Regions from separate parts of the Homo sapiens genome. Here regions 1, 2, 4 and 5 are each linked to region 3. Evidence: promoter capture Hi-C in human tissues and cell types (Jung and others, 2019). All regions are on one chromosome and are shown on one strand. Each heading gives the region's core, a stretch centred on a gene start or on the middle of the fragment in contact. The rest is flanking DNA. Distances are from core to core; before and after follow the strand shown. Region 1 overlaps ZC3H4 (zinc finger CCCH-type containing 4). Region 2 overlaps NUP62 (nucleoporin 62). Region 3 holds the start of EMP3 (epithelial membrane protein 3 (MAM blood group)). Region 4 holds the start of NOSIP (nitric oxide synthase interacting protein). Region 5 holds the start of BBC3 (BCL2 binding component 3).

Region 1 (5,233 bases), core at 24-2,523, 1.2 Mb before region 3:
CGCACGACTGTAATCCCAGCTACTCAGGAGGCTGAGGCAGGAGAATCACTTGAACCTGGGAGGCAGAGGTTGCAATGAGCGATCGCACCACTGCACTCCAGCCTGGGCAACAGAGCAAGACTCTGTCTCGAAAAAAAAAAAAAAAATTAGCCGGGCATGGTGGCACACGCCTGTAGTCCCAGCTACTTGGGAGACTGAGGCAGGAGAATTGCTTGAACCCATGAGGTGGAGGTTGCAGTAAGCTGAGACCATGCCATTGCACTCCAGCCTGGGTGACAGATTGAGACTTCGTCTCAAAAAAAAAGAAAAAGAAAACAAGAACTTCCAAGTGGGACAACTCAGCAATGTGAGGAGAGGCTGCAAGGTCCCCAAGCAGTTATTTAATAATTTCCCAGCAGAGAGCTGGAATCTGGGCTTGCAGGCCTCCACACTCCTCACCAAGGCCTAAACAGGCTCAGAGACAAGAAGGAATTTGCCCATGGGGTCACAGCAGGAAGAAGCAGAACTAGAAACTAAGTCCAGTACTTTTGGATGCAAAGACCAGCTCTTAACCTCTACAAATTATTTGACAACTACAAATTATGTCAAAAAGAGTAATTTGCTAAACAGGTCAACTGACAAAACAACGCCCACCCTGAAATGTATAATCGAGTAGGGAAAAATAAGATATACATACATAAAACAGACTTCATGAATCAGTATTCCAAGAAATGCCAGAATGAGGTACCAAGACTTTGGGCAAATTCCTTAAACACTCTGCACCCCAGTCTCCATAACTGTGCAGCACAGGCAACCATGGAGTCCCCAGGATGGTGTCATGGGAGAATCCCATGAGGCCATGTAACACAAGCACTTAGCAGGAACCTTGCCCAGAATAAATGCTTAGGAGTAAAACCTACCCAAACACAAAGACACAAGGCCGATACGGTCCTTCCAATATCAAGTGAAGGAAATGGTAGCATTTCAAAAACCTAACCAAAGACATCTGGATAGAGAATAAGGGCTCATGGAAAGACCGAAGGAATTCTGGCAAAAAAAAAAAAAAAATAGGACTCATCCCAACACAAAGAGAAAGCAATACAAAAATCCCAGGGAGTGAAATTCCAAAGTCCCCTAATATGAAACGAATGCCTTCGCCCCCAAGTGTGCAGTGTCCACTCTGGGGTTTGTCCAAGCATGCAAACCACTTAGGCAGAACATTTCTGTAAAGCTTCAAACAGGCTGACCGTGAAAAAACCCAGCCTGCTAAAAGGAAGCTTGTGGAGACAAAGATGCCATTTTTTTTGCCTGAGTATCTATTCTTCCACTCCCACGAGCTCTGAAAATTTGCATTCTTGAGCAAAGGTATCTATCCCTCAGATCCAAGTTACTCCTGGCAGATGAACCTCTGGAATTTGCTTCTCAGCAATGAAGAGTTTTCTAACCACCTTCTCATGCCAACTAAGCTTCAGATGGTTTAAAGCTGCAAAGATCATGGTTTTCATCAGAGGACCGATTTCTATCACTCCAGAGGAGAAAGTCTAATAATTTAACTTATGAACTAAGACTTCTCTTTGTTTATAATTATTTATTTATTTATTTCTACACAGGGTCTTGCTCTGTCACCCAGGCTGGAGTGCAGTGGTGTGATCATTGGTTCAATGCAGCCTTGATCTCCTGGGCTCAAGCAATCTTCCCACGTCAGCCTCCCAAGTAGATGGGACTACAAGCATGCACCACCATGCCCAGCTAATTTTTGTATTTTTTGTAGAGACAGGGTTTCAGGCCGGGCGCAGTGGCTCATACCTGTAATCTCATTACTTTGGGAGGACAAGGCAGGCAGATCACTTGAGATCAGGAGTTCGAGACCAGCCTGGCCAACATGGTAAAACCCTGTCTCCACTAAAAATATAAAAATCAGCCCGTTGGCCGGGCACAGTGGCTCATGCCTGTAATCCCAGCACTTTGGGAGGACGAGGCGGGCGGATCACGAGGTCAGGAGATTTAGACCATCTGGGCTAACATGGTGAAACCCCGTCTCTACTAAAAAAAAAAAAAAAAAAAAACTACAAAAAAATAAGCCAGGCGTGGTGGCAGGCGCCTGTAGTCCCAGCTACTCAGGAGGCTGAGGCAGGAGAATGGCATGAACCCGGGAGGCAGAGCTTGCAGTGAGCTGAAATCGTGCCACTGCACTCCGGCCTGGGTGAAAGAGCGAGACTCCGTCTTAAAAAATATGTAAAAATAAAAATAAACAAATAAATAAGAGATCTGGGCCTAAGATTCTTGAGATTTGTTCATATACCACCTAAAGAATTTCTTAGCCAGGCGCAGTGGCTCACGCCTGTAATCCCAGCACTTTGGGAGGCCAAGACAGGTGGATCACCTGAGGTCAGTAGTTCAAGACCAGCCTGGCCAACATGGTAAAACCCCATCTCTACTAAAAACACAAAAATTAGCTGGGTGTGGTGGCGCACACCTGTAATCCCAACTACTCAGGAGGCTGAGGCAGGAGAATCGCTTGAACCCAGGAGGCAGAGGTTGCAGTGAGCTGAGATCATGCCATTGCACTCCAGCCTACGTGACAGAGTAAGACTCTGTCTAAAATAATAATAATAATAATTTCTTAAAAAGAACTGATACAACCTATTCGTTAATTTCTAGTCACCTGTGGGTTCCTTAAGGGCAGACAAGAATGAGGTTCACAGTAACCCCACATTTCCAAGGGCCCAGCACAGGGCCAGGTACAGATTGGGTACATGCTCAGTGCATATTCTATATGAAGTATCAATCTCAGCTCTCATACCCTTTTGGTCAATTTCATCAATAGAAACAGTAACTAATTTCCAAGAAAACTTTTTCAGCAACCTGTATCACTTAAAACTTTGACACAAACTCATTCAAGTGTTTATCAAGGGTTTCCAAATAAGCTTGAAAGTGATGGATGCACAGACTGAACAGAGGAGACAGGCCCTGCCTCGGATGCAGCCCACCCGTGTGGCCCACAAGCTTCAGTTACTGTGACTGCTCTCGTTCCCCGTGGAGTGGCAGGGCCTGCCTGGAATCCCAAGGAAACCTAAGCCCTGGTGTCTGTTAGGAAAATGAGGAGGGCAATAATCCAAGCCACCTGCAACAGACTTTTGGCCAAGCGACACTAGCGTCTGGGCCCAGCTCCCTCGGTTAGGCCATAGCAGGGATGTAATGGCCATGATCCACTTCCACACGGGACCTCAAGAAGTCTCCAGTTACTTCTAATGAATGAAAATCCCTTCCATTTAAGAGGGTTTAAAAGCCTAGGCTTGGGCCTCTACATTCACTGAAAGGAGTGGAACGCAGGGAGAATGGAGCCACAGTGGACTGAGGAAACAGTTAACACCCCCACCCTCTCGAGGGCCAACTTTAAATGGAATATCTATATTCCCTCCTCATTCCTTCCCACCACAAAAAAAATGACAATGGCTGCTGTGCAGGCATACCAGACAGTGCATACCATATCACGTGGTGGGCAGCAACTTTCTACTCAACTCTGCTGCTGTAACGTAGAAGCAGCCACTGATGATATAAATGAATGAGTATGGCTGTGTGCCAATAAACTTTACCTACTGGCCAGGCGCGGTGGCTCATACCTGTAATCCTATCACTTTGGGAGGCCAAGGAGGGTGGATCACTCGAGGTCACGAGTTCAAGACCAGCCTGGCCAACACGGTGAAACCCCATCTCTACTAAAAACACAGAAATTAGCTGAGCATGTGGTGTGCGCCTGTAATCCCAGCTACTCAGGAGGCTGAAGCAGGAGAATCCCTTGAACCAGGAGGCAGAGGTTGCAGTGAGCCAAGATCATGCCACCGCACTCCAGCCTGGGTGACAGAGCAAGATTCTGTCTCAAAACAACACAAACCAACAAAAAAACACTTTACCTACAAAAACAGGCTGGGTGGGCTGGCTTTGGCCCGAGAATCATAGTTTGCCGACCCCTAGCCTGGATGCAACGGCTTTCACACTTTTTGACACTGACCCACATCTGCTTCTTTGCATTTCTCCCAAACAAAAGTTTCCAGAAGCCACATTTAAATGCATTCTGCTTTTTCTCTCCTCTTCCATTTCCTTGGTTTTCCAATGCAAAAGAAAAAGATCAATAATTGGACTTCATATCCCACTAGTGGCTATACCCCACAGTCTGAAAAATAGCACACCAGATCCACCACAGTATAATGGTATGTATAGAGATGGGGTCTGAGTACCAGCCACCCCGGGTTCTAACTCTGCCTGCAGCACACACTTGTTTTGTGACCTGGGACAAGTGACTTCACCTCTCTGTTTTGGTTTCTCCTCAAACAGCAGAGGTAAAGGTTAAATGAGCTAATGCATGAGAAGCACTCAGAAGGGCTCTGGCAGATAATCTTTGACCTTCAGGTCAATTGTGCACAAATGGCACTGTTGCCCCTTCGGAAAGACAAAGACACTGACTTAGGAGATGAACTCAAGAATCACATCCAGTTTGCCTAACTCCCCCAACCATAGCTGTCCACCACCCATCACTCTCAGCAGAGGGCCAATCCCGTGTGGAGAGAACATGGCAGCACCCAGGCAGACATGGTGGCTTATACCTGTAATCCCAGCACTTTGGGAGGCTGAGGTGGAGGATCATTGAAGCCAAGAGTTCGAGGCTGCAGTGAGCTATTAATACTATGAGGTGCCACTGCATTCCAGCCTGGGCAACAGAGCAAAACCCTGTCTCAATAAAAGAGAAAAAACAAAGCTTTTGGCTCTGGAGTTCACTCTATCCTTTCTGGGACAACTGACAGGCATGACCAGGAACCTGATGGGCCTGCCTGTGATCTAGCCACTGAGCCTAACCTTCAAATTAATTAAGGCATCTGCTTTCCAAGTGCATATTAGTAAGCTGCAAGCAGCAGCAGCAACCCTTTATCGTGGCCAGAAACTGTAGAAGGTAGGCCAGACACAGAGGAAGGGAATACGAAGCCTGGTAAAGGCAGTAACAACCCTAGCCCGACTCTAAATAAAGTCTTCATGATAGAAGGGTTCTCTGCACACTCAGAAAACTCTTGGGCTCCAAGAAAAGCCGGGGAGGAACTCAGTTACTGAATGAACAAAACCTTATCTGACTCAGCCAGATCCCAAAGGAGTGAAGAATCCTGGAGCTGGATGAGACCTTGTTCATTCCCCTCTGGAGAGAGTAAAGGACTTGCGTGGGGAAACTGACTAGTTTGCAGTGGTATGAGATTCTAGATCCCTG
Region 2 (4,888 bases), core at 2,107-4,606, 1.6 Mb after region 3:
AGGCTGAGATGGGAGGATCACTGGAGCCCAGGGAGGTGGAGGCTGCAGTGAGCTGTGATTGTGCCACTCACTCCAGCCTGGGCAACAGAGTGAGACCCCATCTAAAAAAGAAAGAAAGGAGACCTACCATTACTCACCGTTTCCTCAAAGCAAACTTTGGGGCAGATCCACTTGACAAATGAGGAAAGTGAAGCCCAGAGTGGCTGGTTAAGCCACGGTCCCTGCCCTCAAGGCAGCCAGAGTCAAATGTCAGCTCTACAACCAGGGCTCAGGGCAGGCACAGGGCCGGGCCACATGCTGTGGGAGCAGGTTCCAGGGAGAAGCTGAGCGTTGCAGATGCAGCATCAGCCAGGGAAAGGATGGCGGGGGAGAGGCGCCGTCCACGCGGGAGGAAAGGCCTGTGTGAAGACAGGGAGGCCCACACAGCAGACATGCCTCTGGGTGCTAAGTGATCTGGTGCTTCTGAAGGGAGATGTTTATGTGTGAAGGAGTGACTTGGCAAGCCTGGGCTGTTCAAATCTGCACATTCCAAAGAGAGAAAATGGCCCTTGACCAGCTCCAGGAGAATCTCTATGTTCTTGAAATGTGCTGCCAGATAAGAGCGCCTTTGTTTACCTGGGGCCCCAGGCCACTCTAGAGAGTCCATGTTGACGCTGTGACCTAGAGTGGGGGCTTTGGGTCATACAGTATCAGCACGACCTCTGGAGGGGCTGGAGTCAGCAGACCTCAGTTCAGCCACACGGGTGCGCCATGTCCTCCCCACAACCCGGGCCGCCACTGCTCCGTAAGCGTTACCACACGCTGTTGCAGGGAGAACTGAGCACTGTCCGCGGGACTCTCTCTACCTGCAGAGGAGAGCTGGAAGCTCGTGCCTGGTCTCCCTTGGGGCTTTTGCATCTCTCCCCTTTGCTGTTTTCAGTCTGTATCATTTCTCCATAATAAACCGTGACCGTGACTGTGAGTAGAAAGCTTTGCTGAGCTCTGTGAGTCTTAGCTCATCACTGAGCCGCAGGGTGGTCTTGGGGACTGTGGGCCACGTGACAGGCGGGAGAATCTGGCAGACCCATACATACCATGCTAACGGTTCGGGCGTTATATTGAGGGAGCCACAGGCGGACTTTATGGGTGTGGGGGATGAACCGTAGGGGTAGAGGCTGGAGGCCAGGTGGCTTAGAGAAGACTGGGAGAAGGTCCAGGCCAAGAGCCTGAGGCCCGAACTGGAACTCAGAGAGGACAGCATCACAATTTGAGCAAAGTGTTAAATTTGCACCAAAACCACAGGGTCTGTCCAGGTTAACAGTGACAGGCCAGGCATGATGGCTCACACCTGTAATCCCAGTACTTTCGGAGGCCAAGGCAGGAGGATTGCTTAAGCCCAGGAGTTTGAGGCAAAAAACAAAAAACAAAAAGCCACAAATACTAGAACTTGGGAAGTTTCTCACAAATGCAAACTATTACGAGCTCTGATCCCGGAATTACCACATTTGCCAAAGGGGAGAGTTTCCTTACCAAAGAAGCTGATGGTGCTGGTGGCGGTGGAGGAAGCAGGGAGGAACCCAAACTGAGGGAGTGTTGCATTTCCAGGGAAAGGAGGAGGGTATGCCTGGGCCTGTGCTCAGGGCTGGGTGGCTGTGACCATCTGTAGTTCACCCAGGCAGGACACAGCTCCAGAGAAGCGCTGCCTTGAGGTCACCAAGGAAAGTGCTGGCAGAGCCGCCAGTCCCTTCCCTTCCTGCCTGCCTGCCCCAACATTTACCCTTGAGTTTCAAACAACACGGCCGCCTTCACAGCCCTGGGAACCCGGAGGAAGACCCGCTTGGGATTCAGATGCGGAATCATCTGAATTCAGGTGGGCATATCCCACCCCCATCTGTGAGAACCAGGGTTCTTTGCTGTCACCCCAGCCTTCGGTCAGCTCTACTACCTTACCTCCATCTGTGATTCTTGTGCCACTCCAAGTCCCAGTTTTTTTTTTTTTTTTTTTTTTTTTTTTTTTGAGATGGAGTCTTGCTCTGCCACCCAGGCTGGAGTGTGGTGGTGCGATCTTGGCTCACTACAACCTCCGCCTCCCGGGTTCAAGCAATTCTCCCACCTCAGCCTCCCGAGTAGCTGGGATTACAGGCGTGCACCACCATGCCCAGCTAATTTTTGTATTTTTAGTAGAGACGGGGTTTCACCATGTTAGCCGGGCTGGTCTTGAACTCCTGACCTCAGGTGATCTGCCCACCTTGGCCTCCTAAAGTGCTGTGATTACAGGAGTGAGCCACTGTGCCCGGCCCCCAACCCCTTTCCTTAGATGCCTGGGACAGGAGTCTGTGCCTGGGAAAGAATACAGGAGACCTCAGCTTTGGACCAAAAGGAAAGGAAGAATTAGGAAGGATGTGTGCTATGTGTGTGGGGGGGTAGACAGAAAAACGGCCCCCAAACATGCCCACACTCTGATCCAGGACCCTGTCAATGTGACCTTACATGGCAAAGGGACTTTGCAGATGTGATGAAGATAAAGAGGTTACCCTGGCTTATCCACGTGAGCCCCAGGTGACCACAGGGGTTCTTCAGGGAGGCAGGAGTCAGAGGGAGATGTGCCTATGGAAGAATGGACTGAGAGACACTGTGCTGCTGGCTTTGAAGATGAGGGGGCCACAAGCCAAGGAACACAGGCGGCTTCGGCCTCTAGAGCTAAAGAAGGACATAGCCTCTCCCCTAGAGTTTCCCAGAGGAACTACACACCATGCACCCATTTAGACTCTGGACCCCCAGCACTGTGAAAATACATTCGTGTTGCTTTAAACCACTACATTTGTGATGACTTGTTACAGCAGCCACTAGAAACCAATGGCGGTAGGTTGAGGGACGATGGAGAAAGAACAGAATGAAATCTAGATAGGTGGATGGGAATACACAGAGCAGAGCTGGGGTTGAGAAAGGGGCTGGGGTCAGGGGCAGGTCTGCCCTTGTGCATGGAGACCAAGGCGGCTGGTACAGAAAGGAAAGTGAGGTGTGATTCTGAAAATCCAGACATCCCCTGGTGCTGGGGCAACCCTGCCAGGACTGTGGATGTGTGTGGGTGGATTGCCACTGACACCCAGCCACGATAGGCCATCTATGATGGGAGGGAAGGACAAGGTTGCCTCCGAACACAGAGGAAGGCTAACGGTGGGGATGGTGTCGGCTCCACTGGGCCAGATTTCCGTTTGTTCCCTGCTGTATTCGCAGCACCTGCAGCAGTGCCTGGTACACAGTAGGGACTCAGTAACAACCATTTACTAGGGACCTACTGTGTAACCGGCACCGTGCCAGAGCACTGCACTGCAGCACACCGAGCCCTTCCTGGGTGGGAAACAAGTGCAGACTCCCCAAGGCCACCCAGCAAACAGCAGACCCATGATGGGAAACCAGAGCTTTCCAGGGCCAAGTCTTGACATTCTGCCTGGGACGGGAGAGTTTCATTGAGGAAAAGATGTTAGAATTAAGTGTTGGCCAAGTGTGGTGGCTCACATCTGTAATCTCAGCACTTTGGGAGGCTGAGGTGGGTGGATCACCTGAGGTCAGGAGTTCGAGACTAGCCTGGCCAACATGGTGTATCTTTTGTATTTTTTTTTTTTTTTTTGAGACGGAGTCTCGCTCTGTCGCCCAGGCTGGAGTGCAGTGGCGGGATCTTGGCTCACTGCAAGCTCCGCCTCCCGGTATCTTTTGTATTTTTGTATCTCTACTAAAAATACAAAAATTAGGCCAGGCGCGGTGGCTCACGCCTGTAATCCCAGCACTTTGGAAGGCCGAGGCGGGCGGATCACTAGGTCAGGAGATCCAGACCATGGTGAAACCCCGTCTGCACTAAAAATACAAAAAAAAATTAGCCAGGCGTGGTGGTGGGTGCCCGTAGTCCCAGCTACTCGGGAGGCTGAGGCAGGAGAATGGCATCAACCCGGGAGGCGGAGCTTGCAGTAAGCCGAGATCACACCACTGCACTCCAGCCTGGGAGACAGAGCGAGACTCCGTCTCAAAAACAAAAAAACAAAAATTAGCCTGGCATGGTGGCGTGTGCCTGTGATCCCAGATAGAGGTGGGAGGATGACTTGAGCCCAGGAGTTTGAGGCTGCAGTGAGCTGTGATCATGCCACCATACTTCAGCCTGGGCGGCTGAGCGAGACCCCGTCTCAAACAAATAAAAAAGTTCTGGGAGGCACTTGAACAAAGGCCCATGGCATTCGGCTGACAGCCACCTGGTGGCACTGCTGACAACGCAGAGCCCAGATGCAAGACGGACAGGGTGCGGAGCTGTCTCCGTGGGACCTCCCCTTTCCCCATGGAATTCGTTATTTCAGATTTGGGGGAAGTATGACCGGTGGAACCAGAGAGACCAGAACAGGGCAGAAAAGAGCAGAGAGTGAGGGAGTGGAGAGGAGAGAAACAAGGGGAGATCAGAGATGGGCTGGGCTCAGCCCAGGGAAATTTGATTCCTGCTGAGGCTCAGACGCCGTCCTCCAACACTGCCTTCCCTCACTTGCCCTCCCGTGGGAACCTCTGGCCAGGACCATCTCCATGAGTGCTAGTGCTGGGATTCTCCGTCTGCAAACTCCACAAGTCTAACTACTCTGCTTCTTAACCGTCTCCTGAATCAGTTCCTCTTTCCTTTGCGTCAAAGAAAATCCCCCTAAACCTTGAATAACAGATCAGCTCCAAGTCTGCCCTTCAAGAACTGAAGTCAACTGACCAACACCTTCCTAAGTGGACCTTAGCCAAGGCAGATGCTCAAGCGGTCCAGGCCAAATGGCCAGACCAGAGTGCCTTGGGAGCATGAGACCATGAGTGGGTCAGGGTCTGGGTTATGTTGGGAAAGACTCACCGAGACTCTGTGTGGGAGGAGTGAGGAGACTGTTGCAGTCGC
Region 3 (4,365 bases), core at 1,866-4,365:
GAGCCCTCTTTTCCTGCTCCCCAAGAGGAACGTATGTCTCCCCAGCCCCTAATTTTTCCTTCAGTGACCCAGACTTTGCAACTTCCTTAGGGATCTGAGTGCGGACCCCAGTTTCTGTCTCTCAGGCACTTAAGTTTGAGACTACTTATTCTCCCCCAGGGACCCTCATTTTGGATTCCCAACTTTAGCCTTGAGACCCAATGGACCCAAGAATTTGCCCCTTCCCCAACTCCTAGAGATCCTGAATCAGGGTCCCCCAGTACTGACTCCACTCAGAGCCCCAATGCCTGATATGACTAGCACTACCCTAAGAACTGCCCTATAATGTATTTACTATTATCTCTATTTTTCAGATGAAGAGACTGAGGCATAGAGAAGTTATTAGTAACTTGCCAAAAATTACACAGCCATTGAGTAAAACAGCTTGGATTTTGAGTCCAACCAGTGTGGCTCTAGAGTCTGTGCTATACTGGTATTCCAGCTTCCAGGTCTTGGGGTACCCAGCCAAGCACTGAACTGTCCATCCCTCACCCCCTCAGGGAGCCCGAATCACCAACAGCTATCCCAAACCCAGCTCTGGCCCATCAGATACCCAGACATCCCATCATCCAGTTCCCTTCCCTGGATCCAGGATTTGAATTCCCCTGCTCTCAATTTATCAGAGTTCTGGGCACCTGGTCCCCTCCCAAGAGACTCGTGTACATAGTAGTCATCACCCCGACCCTAATTTAATATCCCCAAAATTAATAATAATAGTTAACAGTAAACCTTTGGGGCCAGGCACAGTGTCTTACGCCTGTAATCCCATCATTTTGGGAGGCCAAGGCAGGCAGATCACTGGAGGTCAGGAGTTCGAGGCCAGCCTGGCCAACATGGAGAAACCCCCGTCTCTACTAAAAATACAAAAATTGGCTGGGCGTGGTGGCGGGCACCTGTAATCCCAGCTACTCAGGAGGCTGAGGCAGGAGAATCGCTTGAACCGGGAGGTGGAGGTTGCAGTGAGCTGAGATCATGCCACTGCACTCCAGCCTGGATGACAGAGCAAGACTCCATCTCAAAAAAAAAATAAAAATCTTTGGTACTACACTCTGTTAAAACCTAATGGCTTTCCACTGCACTTAGAATGAAATCCAAGCCCCTCCCCTAGTCTTCAAGGGCACCCTTTGATTTCCCTTCTCACCACTCCCTCTGTCTCCCTGTGCTCCAGCCACACTGGCCCTTCTGTCTGCTCCCTAAACAACCTGAGCTTGTTCTCAAAAGCTTTAAGAGCTTTTGCACTTCCTCTCCCCCCGACGCCCCCCCACCACTCCCCAACCCCAGCGTTCAAATGACTCCTGTCTTCAGCTCAAATGTTACCTCCTCCAAGAGGCCTTCCCTGATTTTCCTGTTTCAAGTAGTCTTCCCTGCACTCTGTCATTATCTCCATCACTCTGTTTGATTTATTATTGTATTTATTTTTCTTTTCTTCTTTTATTTTTTTTTTTCTTTAAGATGGAGTCTTGCTCTGTCACCCAGGATGGAGTGCAGTAGCGTGATTTCAGCTTACTGCAACCTCCGCCTCCCGGGTTCAAGCAATTCTCCTGTCTCAGCCTCCTGAGTAGCTGGGTTACAGGCGCCCACTACCATGCCTGGCTAATTTTTGTATTTTTAGTAGAGACAGGGTTTCACCATGTTGGCCAGGCTGGTCTTGAACTCTCGACCTCAGGTGATCCTCCAGCCTTGGCCTCCCAAAGTGCTGAGATTACAGGCATGAGCCACCACGTCCAGCCTATTGTATTTATTTTTCAAGTCACTTATCCTTATCTGAGATTTATCTTCATCATTGATGTTTTCTCTTGTCTGTCTTCCTCTACTAGAATACAAGCTCCATAATACCAGCAGGGCTCATGTCTGTTTTCATTATTAACTCCCAGATCAGAGTACATGTTCAATAAATGTTTGATGAAGGAAGGAACAGGTTAGGTGTGTGAGTGTGCCAGTATTACCTTATTCATTCAGCATAAGTATCAGAATTATTATTATCAGTATTAGTATTTTGTCAGCATTATTATACTCTCAACATAGACTAAGATACTGGAGCCCAGGTGGGTGAAATAATTGGCTCAAGGTCACTGAACCAGGAAATGATGGCGCTGGGATTCTTAGCTTCCGCTTCCTCCCCGCTTCCAGAGTTTCACAAGGTTTTTTTTTTTGTTTGTTTGTTTTTTGTTTTGTTTTGTTTTTTTTTTGCGACAGAATCTCACTTTGTCCCCCAGGTTGGAAGGCAGTGGTGCAAACTCAACTCACTGCAGCCTCCACCTCTCGCGTTCAAGCGATTCTCATGGCTCAGCCTCCCAAGTAGCTGGGATTACAGTCGCCCGCCACCACGCCCGGCTAATTTTTGTATTTTTGATAGAGACGGGTTTCCACCATGTTGGCCAGGCTGGTCTCGAACTCCTGACCTCAGATGATCTGCCCGTCTCGGCCTCCCAAAGTGCTGGGATTACAGGCGTGAGCCACAACGCCCTGCCGAGTTTCACAAATTTCATCTCCCATCCTCTGACCCCCCACCACGGGGCCAACTTCACCAGCCCAATCTCAAGTCCATGCCACAGAAATCTGGCCTCTTTTCCCAGACTCCTATCCAGCTCCAAGCTCCATCAGGGAAAGCAGACATCCGGCCCCAGGGCAAGACCTCAAAACTCAAGGGTCCTGAGAATCGGGCCCTCCCACCCCTGACGCTTGCCCCCCCCAAGAACCCCATTCCAAGAGTTTCTCATCTCAACCCTGGGAGGGAGCCCCAGATGATGTCTGTCTGGAGGGATTGGGTGGGGGCCCAAAGAAAGAGGAACCGGAGTGCCTGGGCCCTCCCACTGGCAGCCGACCTCAGCTGGGTGCGGTGAGGGTGGGTTTATAAAAGGGTCAGTATATATTGAGAGGAGGAGAGAAAGAGAAACGGGAGCAAGAGAGAAGGAGGCCCAGACAGTGAGGGCAGGAGGGAGAGAAGAGACGCAGAAGGAGAGCGAGCGAGAGAGAAAGGGTTCTGGATTGGAGGGGAGAGCAAGGGAGGGAGGAAGGCGGTGAGAGAGGCGGGGGCCTCGGGAGGGTGAAAGGAGGGAGGAGAAGGGCGGGGCACGGAGGCCCGAGCGAGGGACAAGACTCCGACTCCAGCTCTGACTTTTTTCGCGGCTCTCGGTAAGTTTCCAGTCCGTTATTCAGGGCTGGGACTTCTTAATTTACTTGGGAATGTAGCAGTTTGGGAAGGACACCCCCAGGCTGGGAGAGACGTCCCTGACTCTTGGAAATCCTTTTAATTTAATAAGTGATCTCTTAGCACTTGAGGTGGGGATATGGGAAGGGGTGGGGCCCGGCAAAGTTTTGGGGTCCCAGCAGAGCCCTCCACTGGAAAACTTCCTGCAGTTTTTCCCTCAGCGGTGTCCACTGTCCTCTGGGGTCCCTGAGATCAGGGCATTGCATGAGAACACCCCAAATCTGGGAGACCTCTAGGTCCCCTGTTCCTGGGCACCAAAGAGTCCTGGGAGGCTAACTCCTTCTTGGGCCTCTCTTCCCCCCAGCGCGAATCCTATCCATTTCCTCCAGAAGATGTCCAACAGTCACCAGTCTGGCAGCAGGGTGGGGTGAGGACCTCGTGGACATAGCCAGGGGCTGGGGTTTCCCTGGTGCTTAGAGATGGGGGGGGGTGGGGATGAGTCACCAGATGACTCACCAGGTCCCCCTCCTCCCCTCAACCCAGGAGAGGAGTGGTGTGAGTCAAGAATGCCTGTTGCTGGGGGCAGCTCCTCAATCCTGATGTCGGGGTGCAGGGTGGGGTCTCAACTTGAATTTTCACTATCTGGCCTGTATGTAACCCAGAGTCAGGGTTCTGGGGAGAGAGGAGCCACATTGCTAGTCCTCCTCATTCAAGGAACCCAAGAGTCCATCTTTGGCCCTCTCCACCCCTCCAGCCAATGGGGATCTCAGGAATCCAGGCCCCAGCGGTCTCCTCCCTGAGAGACCCAGGAGTCTGCACCCATGCCCTTCCTCCATCAGGAGACATCTCACCTGCCTTTATGCCAAATTTTTTTTTTTTTTTGAGACGGAGTCTTTCTCTGTCACCCAGGCTGGAGTGCAATGGCATGATCTTGGCTCATTGCAACCTTTGCCTCCTGGATTCCAGTGATTCTCCTGCCTCAGCCTCCCGAGTAGCTGGGATTACAGGTGTGCACCACCACACCCAGCTAATTTTGTATTTTTAGTAGAGATGGGGTTTCACCATGTTGGCCAGGCTGGTCTCGATCTCCTGACCTCAGGTGATCCTCCCGCCTCGGCCTCCCAAAGTGCTGGGGTTATAGGCGTGAGTGTGCCTGGCCTGTGCCAACCTCTTGA
Region 4 (4,836 bases), core at 1,941-4,440, 1.3 Mb after region 3:
GGCCAACATGGCGAAACCCCATCTCTACTAAAAATACAAAAATTAGCTAGGCGTGGTAGCGCATGCCTGTAGCCCCAGCTAGTCGGGAGGCTGAGGCAGGAGAGTCGCTCAAACCTGGGAGCCGAGATCACGCCACTGCACTCCAGCCTGGGTGACAGAGCAAGACTCTGTCTCAAAAAAAGAAAAAAAAAGAAAAGAAGTATATCTTGGGTAAAGGAATATTATCCAGCCATAAAAAGAATAAAGTAGCTGGCTGGGCGCCGATGGCTCACACCTGTAATCCCAGTACTTTGGGAGGCCAAGGCAGGAGGATCACTTGAACCCAGGAGGTTGAGGCTGCAGTGAGCCATGATCGAACCACTGCACTCCAGCCTGGGTAACAGAGCAAGGCCGTGTCTCGGGAAAAAAAAAAAAAAAAAGAAGTATTGATACATGCCACAACATAGGTGAACCTTGAAAACATGCTAAATGAAAGAAGGAAGGCAGTCACAATAATATTTTATGGTTTCATTTGTGCAAAATACCCAGATTAGGCAAATCCACAGATATAGCAGAGTAGTGGCTGCCAAAGACTGGGGTGGGAAGGATTGGGAGGAAATAGGGAATGACTGCTAATGAGTACCAGGGTTTCTTTTTGGGTGATGAAAATATTCTTAAAATGATAGTGTTGATGGTTGCACAACTCTGTCAACGTACTAAACACCACTGAATTGTATATTTTCAATGGGTGAACTATATGTTAGGTAAATCATATCCCACTAATGCTTTTTTTTTTTGAGAGGGAGTTATGCTCTTTTGCCCAGGCTGGAGTGAAGTGGCATGATCTCAGCTCACTGCAACCTCTGTCCCTAGGGTTCAAGCAATTCTCCTGCCTCAGCCTCCTGAGTAGCTGGGATTATAGGTGCCAGCCACCATGACCAGCCAATTTTTGTATTTTTAGTAGAGATGAGGTTTTACCATGTTGGCCAGGCTGGTTTCGAACTCCTGACCTCAGATGATCCACCTGCCTTCACCTCCCAAAGTGCAAGGATTACAGGCATGAGCCACTGTGCCTGCCCAATGGGGATTTTTAAAACAGGTAGCTGGCAGGATTTGAGTTTGGTCTGTAGAACATAATTAGCTGATCCCTGGCATGAGGAAACAAGTAAAATGAGGCCGGGCTCAATGGCTCACACCTGTAATCTAAGCACAGCACTTTGGGAGGCCAAGGCAGGAGGATCGCTTAAGCCCAGGAGTTTGAGACCAGCCTGGGCAACATAGTGACACCTTGTCTCTATCTATTTTTTCTTTTTTTTTTTTGAGACAGAGTCTCACTCTGTCGCCCAGGCTAGAGTGCAGTGGCGTGATCTCGGCTCACTGCAAGCTCTGCCTCCCGGGTTCACGCAATTCTCCTGCCTCAGCCTCCTGAGTAGCTGGGACTACAGGTGCCTGCCATCATGCCCGGCTAAGGGGTTTCACCGTGTTAGCCAGGATGGTCTTGATCTCCTGATCTCATGATCCGCCCGCCTTGGCCTCCCAAAGTGCTGGGATTACAGGCATGAGCCACTGTGTCTGGCCTATTTTTAAATACTTAAAAAAAAAAAGAAAGAAAACAGAAGCAGGTAAAATGAGACCACAAAAAAGCAAACGGGACAAATTCAGATGGTGGGATGATCAACTGAACTAGAATTAGTTTCTTCAATGAATCGATTACACCAAGAAATAACCAAAGTGGAGTGGAAGGGGGAACAGTTCTAAATTAAGAGAGATGTAAAAGACGATAGCAATTACTTAACTATATCCTGATTCCAACAAACCCACAGTTACACTGGACTTGACTCTGCACCACGTAATGGATAGTAGTCTAGAATTACGGTTGTTCTTTTAAAGTGTGATGATGGTATTGTGGTCATATCAGCAATGTTTCTGGTTTTTACACACGCACCCTGTTAGATAAAATTTATAGAAGGTCATTGGTTTGGATTGAGCTCCTGCACTAGGTTCAACAGACCAAACCAAAATGGAGACACTCATGCTAAAGTTCCATGCTTCCAAGCCAAAACTAAGTTGATATCTGATCTTCTGAGATATCAGGAGAGAGATAATAGCCAAATCCCCAAACAACCCAGTTTTAGCCCACCTGATAAAGGAAGTCCCCTCTACTTTAACCTTTAACTTAGAAATTTAATCAAGTTAATCAATTTAATCAACTAGCTTTTTGTTTTCCGTTTCTGATTTTCTCAGCCCTTTGTCTCTGAAAACAACCTCTGCTCAGCTCATCGGAACACTCACGCTATTTTCCATAATTAGATGTTGTTTGATTGTAGATTCACGAATAAATGCCAATTAAGATCTTCTCACTAAATGTGTTGCAATTTTGTCTTTTGACAATCCTTAAGTGTCATGATGCCTACGATTTGTTTTAATCTCTTTAAGTTTAAAAAAATACAGCAAGTATGGCAAAAATAATCATTGGTGATTTGGGTGACAGGAATTCCTGTATTCTTCTCTCACTTTTATATAAGTTTGAACATTTTCGTAAGAAAACATTAACATCAAACTGCCTCAAGGACCGTTCAAGCCCCAAGTTCACAGAATTAGCAGCACAATCAGAATGGGAATCCATGACTGCCTGACCCCGAAGCTCCACACAAGAAAACGTGAATCCCTGCACCAACCCCGAAAGGGAAGGGGCTGTCAAAAAGGTGAAGAGAAGGTGGCGATGGATGACTGCACAATCTAGTATCGCCCGCCGTCCCACCACAGTCTGAGAAACTGAGGCCAGGAAAGGAGTTCTCCCTCCTCAACTCCCACTCCTTAGACCCCCAGCAATCCCAGTCCACTCCTTCCCTTGGGACCACCAGCAAATAGCCATCATCTACAGCAGAACTGTAACTCTCAGGAGAACTGGCCGATGCTAGCTACCACTTGACTGAGTTTATAGTGAGAGAGAGAGACAAAGAGAGAGAGAACTGCCCGATGGACGGTTGGCCACCTCCAGCAGAGTGTAGTTCAGCTTCAAACTTGGGGCGCCCGGACAGCTGTATTAATAATGATTGACAGGGAATCGGGAATCCAAAATCTTGCCCCAGTCTCCCTCAAGACCCCAGGCCTCTAGCCCGCAGGAAAGCGATCCCAGCAACACTCTTCCTGCACCGCCTCGAACTCACCTCACTAACGACTCCCAGTCCCTCGGTCGCTTCTTCAACTGTGCCCCGACACCGGAAAGGAGCACTATTTTCCCCCTCCGCTCCGCCCACTTCCGCCCAGCAGAAGGCACCGGAAGTAGAGCTGCCCCTAGTTGCGGAAGTGCCTCGCCTGGCTTGCTCAAGTCCTCTCTTCTCTTTCTCTCTCCGGAAACGTGAGTAGCTAATCGAAAGTTCCGGATATTGAAACTGGTGGGAATATGGGGAACGCTTACTATGTACGAGGCATTTCCCAGGGAGATCGTTTTTTCCTGCTTGGTTCCCAGGTTTTGAGTCTCTCCAAGCCCAAATTTAAGGACTAATCACTTCCCCTAGAGATCGGGAAGCCCACTTTCCCAAATATATCATCCACTTTTCTTGCTGCATCTTAAAACAATTGAGAAGAGACAACTACGCTCCCATTTTACAGACAGAGCCATTGGGAAATTGAAAATCAAAGCCGTTCAAGTCGCTCTCAGGAAACAGGGATTTACTGCGGCACTGCCCAGCTGTCCCAGGGACTAAGGCATATCGTTCCCGCTAGTTTCTAGATACCTAGAGACCTAGATATTAATTTTTCTAGCTCGGACAGACGAACTCCCAGGGGAGAGCCAGAGCGGGTAGGGGTCGGGAGGGAGGAGGAGGGTCGAATCTAATCCCCCAGGTATCCCATGGTATTCGACACCTTGGCTTCCTCATGGAGCTCTGGCCTTTAAGTCCTTTATCCCAAGGTCCCTTTAAATACTTTGTCCCTTACCTGAGTCCCGCCCAGGGCAGGTAATGGCAAGTTCCGCCCACCTGCCAGAAACGGGGATCAGGCCTGGTTACCGGGAGTGGGGCGCCCCTCCTCCTTATCCCCTCCCCTCTTCCCTGTCCCCTTTCACAGCTGGCTGTAGCTGGCCAAGGAGTTCTCGATTAAAGAGGAAGGGGCAGTGCTCACATTTCTGGGCAGGTAAGTGAATGTCCCTGGAGGAAGAGCCTGGCTTGGGGACCCAGGCATCCTGGCTCCCCGCCCCTCCGAGACCCAGAAGTTTGGGGCTCCTAGGCCCAGGAGTCCAGGGCCCCTGCCCACTTAGGTCCCTAGACCCAATAATATAACTAATCCCCTGCCTCTGCCTCTCTCGTAATCTTTGTTGTCTGTGGGTGGATGTGACAATGAGCACAGAAAGAGGCACAAGTGGAAATTACCAGGAAGGGAAGACTCCAGATCACCAGTGGACATGTTTATAAGCATCTGTGTCAGGTGCTGTAGACACAGTGGGGAAAGAAAGATAAGCTGCCTGCTCCTTGCTTTCTTCTCTGGCGGACACTGCCTTCACTGAAATCCTGGCTCTCACACTTGCACACTGTGTGACCTTCGGCAAGCTATATTACCTCTCTGTGCCTCAGTTTCCTGTTCTCTATACTGGGGATAATAATAGGACTCCTGGTCGGGCGCAGTGGCTCACACCTGTAATCCCAGCACTTTGGGAGGCCGAGGCGGGTGGATCACTTGAGGTCAGGAGTTTGAGACCAGCCTGGCCAACATGGTGAAACCCCATCTCTACTAAAAATACAAAAAATTAGCCAGGCGTGGTGGTGCGCACCTGTAATCTCAACTACCCGGGAGGCTGAGTCAGGAGAATCGCTTGAACCCAGGAGGCAGAGGTCACAGTGAGCTGAGATAGCGCCA
Region 5 (4,707 bases), core at 110-2,609, 1.1 Mb before region 3:
GACAACTCACACAGACACCTGGACAGAAAACAGACATTTGCATTTAGCAGGCGCAGCATCACAAACGCTGGGCAAAAGACACATGCCCCGGAGATACAGAGACGGCCTCAGCCAAGACAGAAACACACAGGCAAGACACAAGCACACATATCGCACGCTCGGGCAAGACACACACATAAACACACAAACAGCTCACTCCAGCAACACACACACACTACAACCTCCACACCCCAGCACACGCAGGCACCACAGACCCCCAGTATCATCCCGGAACAGCACACACAGACAACTCTCACCGACAACACACGCAGGTCCACCCACCCCACAAGCAGGGCACCCACAGACAGAACCCCACACAAACAGGCGCGGGGACTCACGCAGACACCCCGACGGGTCAGAAACCCCAACATTCCTCTGGATCGACACCACCACTCCCTGCAGAACCCAGCACAAACTCGGAGCCAGACACGCGCACACACCCAGGCGAGACACCTGCAGATCCACAACCCCGCACACGCGCGCTCCCACGGCGGTCCCAGACACCCCCCTCCGCTGTCACAGCCCCCCCCACCGCCGCCACGTGCGCCCGCCCCGCCCGCCAGGCGAGCGCGGGGCCAATAACCGGCTGTTGCTGGGGCGCAGCCCCCGCCCGCAGGAGCCGCAGACTCCACGGCCCGCGAGCCGCCCCCCGTCGCCGCCCCCAGCGGGCGCGCGCCCTGGGTGTGGCCGCCCCTCCGTGCCGCCCCCCCGCCCCTCCCGGACTTTGGGGGCTGGGGCACCCCTGGGGTCGACCCTCTTCCCCGGGGCCGCACTGGCCGCCAGGGGGCGCTGCCGAGCCCGCACCCCATTGTTTGTAAACAAACCCGCCAGACCGCCGAGGCACCTGTGCGCCCAGACCGGCGCCCCAACGCCGAGCCGCCTCTCACCCGGCGACCCTGGCCCAGGGTCCCTCGCGGGGTTTGGAGAGGCGCGGTGTGGGGAGGCAGGGCGCCCACACTGCTCTCCGCCTGCACTCCTGTCACCTCCTCCAGGGAGTCCACCCGGCCTGGCCGATCGCCGCCGGAGAGGATTCGGGGCGCGCACACTCACCCCGGGGGCATGAACACGCCGGAGGGGGCGGCGGTGGGGGGCGGGCGGCTTCCTTCAGGAGGGCGCGCCCGCCGAGCGCCGCTCTCCGCGGCGGCTGCTGCTGTGGCTGTCGCTGCTGCTGCCGCTCTAACTGCAGTGGCGGCTGCTGTGGCTGTGGCTGCTGCTGCTCCCCGGGCCGCAGGCGCGTCCGCGTCGTGGCCGCTGCTGGGATCGCTGGTGCCGCCGCCGCCGCCGCCAGGCGCCCGCTCGCATGTGGCTCGCGCCGCGTCTCAGGCCGCCCGGCGGATCCCGGGCCCGCTCCAAAGCCGCCCCGCCCCGCCCCGCCCCGCCCCCGCCCGGCGGGTCCCACGCCCCGCCCCCGCGTGACGCTACGGCCCCGCCCGCCCGCCGCGGACAAGTCAGGACTTGCAGGCGCGCGCCGCGCCCCCCCCTACCTCCGCGCCGGGGGTTTCCCTGCAGCGGGGGACGGGGCAGGGCCTAGCCCAAGGCAAGGAGGACCCAGGCGCTGTGCGGCGGGGTGTGGGGAGATCGCCCAGACACCGGGACAGTCGGACACACACACTGACTGGGACCCACAGATCCACACCCCCAGCGATGCGTACACAGACCGACCGACGGGCGTTCCAGGGTCCACAAAGTCACGTGCAGGCAGAGCCCAGAGGATGTACTCACAGACACAAGGCCACAGTCTCGCAAATCCACACCATGGACAGGGGCATGAGCACACACACTCACATACTGATGGGGCTCACACTTACACACACCCAGACGGAAATGCACAGACTCACTAACAGGGTCCCCTGGACAAGCAGACGGACACAATGACAGGGCCACACACAGTTGCAGAAACACCCACACTGATGATCACACCTGGGCCCACAAACTGTGTTCACAAACAACCCTACCGAACAGGCACCCACACCACACACACGGTGGTGCAACCACACAGACATAGGCGGAGTGCTTATCAGGAAACACAAACTTGCTGATAGGCACAGGGGACACACACATACACACAGACACCTGTTACAGGGATACCTGGATACACGGCCAAATCCAAATCACACTCCCACAGGGACATACACAAATGCACTCACACAATTTCACAGCTAACACATTAAAACTATCAGAAAGTGACATTCGCCCGACACGGTGGCTCATGCCTGTAATCCCAGCACTTTGGGAGGCCAAGGTGCGTGGACTGCCTGAGGTCAGGAATTCGAGACCAGCCTGACCAACATGATGAAACCCCATCTCTACTAAAAATACAAAATTAGCCGGGCGTTGTGGCGCATGCCTGTAATCCCAGCTACTTGGGAGGCTGAGGCAGGAGAACTGCTTGAACCCGGGAGGCGGAGGTTGCAGTGAGCCGAGATAGTGCCATTGCACTCTAGCCTGGGCAACAAGAGCAAACTCCGTCTTAAAAATAAAAATAAAGGAAAGAAACTGACATTCAGAGACACAAACCAAATCAGACATAGAAGAAACTGACCACCCACACATGTCACAAAGTCACACCTGTGACAGCTTCTTGCTAACTGGCCCACTGCACACACGTCGGAGCATGCACACCTGGCCACACTCACCACAAATCTGGCAGGGGACCCACGTCGTGGAAGCAGCCCTGGGCACCTGGCATGGACATGCCTGGGCAGACCCCATGCCAAATTTCATCCTGTCTCATAGCTTTCCATTCCGTTTCTTTTTCAGTTTCTCATTGTTACTTCCTGCCCTGCTCTGGTTTGGTGAGTTTTGTCCTTCCTTTTTCCAAAGCCGTGGATTCCTGTCTCCTCTACACTTTCCATCCTTACTGGGTCTCACCCAATCGCAATCGCCTCACCAGAGTGACTCACCTTCCAGTGCCTAGTGTGGGGCTGGCTGAGTAAGGATGTCAGACTTCTCAAACTTGACTGCCTCCAAGTACACACTCTTAGCTCCCCCAAGAGATGCAGGTAATCTATATCTCACGTGAAATCTCCCCATTTGCAACATTGGGAACTCCTCAGCTTTCCTCCCTCTTTCACTTTCCCTCCTCTTTCGCTTTCCCCGATTATTCATTGTCCCTTCCTTCTTCCTGGTGTTTTCCAAACTGTGGGTCATGAGTAAACCATGGATTATGACATATGACATCACTTACATGGATCTTACTTTTTTTTTTTTTTTTGAGACAGAGTCTCGCGCTGTCGCCCAGGCTGGAGTTCAGTGGCATGATCTCGGCTCATTGCCACCTCCGCCTCCTGGGTTCAAGCAAGTCTTCTGCCTCAGCCTCCCTAGTAGCTGGGACTACAGGTGTGCGCCACTATGCCCAGCTAATTTTTGTATTATTGGTAGAGATGCGGTTTCACCATATTGGCCAGGCTGGTCTCAAACTCCTGACCTCGGGATCCGCCTGTCTTGGCCTCCCAAAGTGCTGGGATTACAGGTGTGAGCCACTGCACTCAGCTTTTTTTTTTTTTTTTTTTTGAGACGGAATGTCACTCTGTTGCCCAGACTGGAGTGCAGTGGCACGATCTCAGCAAACTGCAAGCTCCGCCTCCCAGGTTCAGGCCTTTCTGCCTCAGCCTCCCCAGTAGCAGGGAGTACAGGCGTCTGCCACCACACCCGGCTAATTTTTTGTATTTTTTAGTAGAGACAGTGTTTCACCATGTTAGCCAGGATGGTCTCGATCTCCTGACCTCGTGATCTGCCCTCCTCGGCCTCCCAAAGTGCTGGGATTATGGCGTGAGCCACTGCACCTGGCCCAGCCTTTTTTTTTTTTAGATAAAAGATTCACTCTGTCGCCCAGATTGGAGTGTAGTGGCACAATGGATAGCCTTGTGGTACAATAGCCTTGCAGCTTCAAACTCCTGGGCTCCAGAGATCCTCCTGCCTCAGCCTCCCAAGTAACTGGGACTACAGGTGTAAACCACCACGCCCAGCTAATTTTTATTTTTTTGTAGAGATGGGCGGTCTCGCTATGTTGCCCAGTCTGGTCTTGACCTTATGGGCTCAAGCAAACCTCCTGCCTCCGCCTCCCTCAGTGCTGGGATTACAGGTGTGAACCACCATGCCCGGCTGACTTAATGCATTTTACTCAGTAAGATGCATTCACATCCCAACCAACTTGCGCTTTACTGAGATGTATTTAGACACAAGAATATTCACTCTTTTTAGGTGTATGGTGTGTAAGTGGTGATAAAAGTACACAATTTTGTATTACCACAACTTCTACCTGCAATTTTACTGACCTAGACAAGAGGTTTTGTTGTTGTTTTAATTGAGACAGATTCTGGCTGTGTTACCCAGGCTGGTTTCAAACTCCTGCGCTCAAGCGATCCTCCCACCTCAGCCTCCCTAGTAGCTGGGATTATAGGTGTGCATGACTGCTTTGACCAGAGTTAAAAAAAAATACACCACAGGCCGGGCATGGTGGCTCACACCTGTAATCCTAGCACTTTGGGAGGCCGGGGGACGTGGATCACCTGAGGTCAGGAGTTTGAGACTAGCCTGGCCATCATGGTAAAACCCCATCTCTACTAAAAATACAGAAATTAGCTGGGCATGGTGGTGGGTGCCTGTAATCCCAGCTACTCGGGAGCTTGAGGCAGAAGAATTGCTTGAACCCAAGGGAAGGAGGTT

The links. The method cuts DNA at HindIII sites, captures the fragments that hold promoters and counts their contacts. A contact is called where the count stands out against the background at its distance.
Region 1: a fragment that was not itself captured here is called in contact with the fragment with the promoter of EMP3 in region 3 in 1 of the 25 tissues and cell types used here (dorsolateral prefrontal cortex).
Region 2: a fragment that was not itself captured here is called in contact with the fragment with the promoter of EMP3 in region 3 in 1 of the 25 tissues and cell types used here (aorta).
Region 4: the fragment with the promoter of NOSIP here is called in contact with the fragment with the promoter of EMP3 in region 3 in 1 of the 25 tissues and cell types used here (spleen).
Region 5: the fragment with the promoter of BBC3 here is called in contact with the fragment with the promoter of EMP3 in region 3 in 1 of the 25 tissues and cell types used here (adrenal gland).

Annotation. Positions count from the first base shown.
Region 1 is chr19:47,101,739-47,106,971 of GRCh38, forward strand. All of the region lies in intron 2 of ZC3H4 (zinc finger CCCH-type containing 4), which reads right to left. Among named protein-coding and RNA genes, the nearest start is that of ZC3H4, 9.4 kb to the right of the region's middle. The HindIII fragment of the contact is 3,344 bases long and covers 1-2,945 here.
Region 2 is chr19:49,912,762-49,917,649 of GRCh38, forward strand. All of the region lies in intron 2 of NUP62 (nucleoporin 62), which reads right to left. It also overlaps a transcript of IL4I1 not described here. Among named protein-coding and RNA genes, the nearest start is that of ATF5, 14 kb to the right of the region's middle. RefSeq lists an enhancer at 1-510. The HindIII fragment of the contact is 9,177 bases long and covers 1-4,888 here.
Region 3 is chr19:48,322,437-48,326,801 of GRCh38, forward strand. EMP3 (epithelial membrane protein 3 (MAM blood group)) reads left to right here and starts at 3,116. Exons shown (of 5, transcript NM_001425.3): 1 at 3,116-3,174. It overlaps LOC124904735 (a long non-coding RNA gene), which reads left to right. Exons shown (of 2, transcript XR_007067284.1): 2 at 354-1,086. RefSeq lists enhancers at 1-39, 2,940-2,989, 3,590-3,639, 3,930-3,999 and a silencer at 2,131-2,362. The HindIII fragment of the contact is 22,631 bases long and covers 1-4,365 here.
Region 4 is chr19:49,577,366-49,582,201 of GRCh38, forward strand. NOSIP (nitric oxide synthase interacting protein) reads right to left here and starts at 3,191. Exons shown (of 9, transcript NM_001270960.2): 1 at 3,150-3,191. It overlaps PRRG2 (proline rich and Gla domain 2), which reads left to right and starts at 3,951. Exons shown (of 7, transcript NM_000951.3): 1 at 3,951-4,116. The HindIII fragment of the contact is 33,716 bases long and covers 1-4,836 here.
Region 5 is chr19:47,229,840-47,234,546 of GRCh38, forward strand. BBC3 (BCL2 binding component 3) reads right to left here and starts at 1,360. Exons shown (of 4, transcript NM_014417.5): 1 at 1,090-1,360. RefSeq lists silencers at 518-1,237, 1,378-1,607 and enhancers at 1,748-1,867, 2,577-3,200, 2,627-2,896. The HindIII fragment of the contact is 48,720 bases long and covers 1-4,707 here.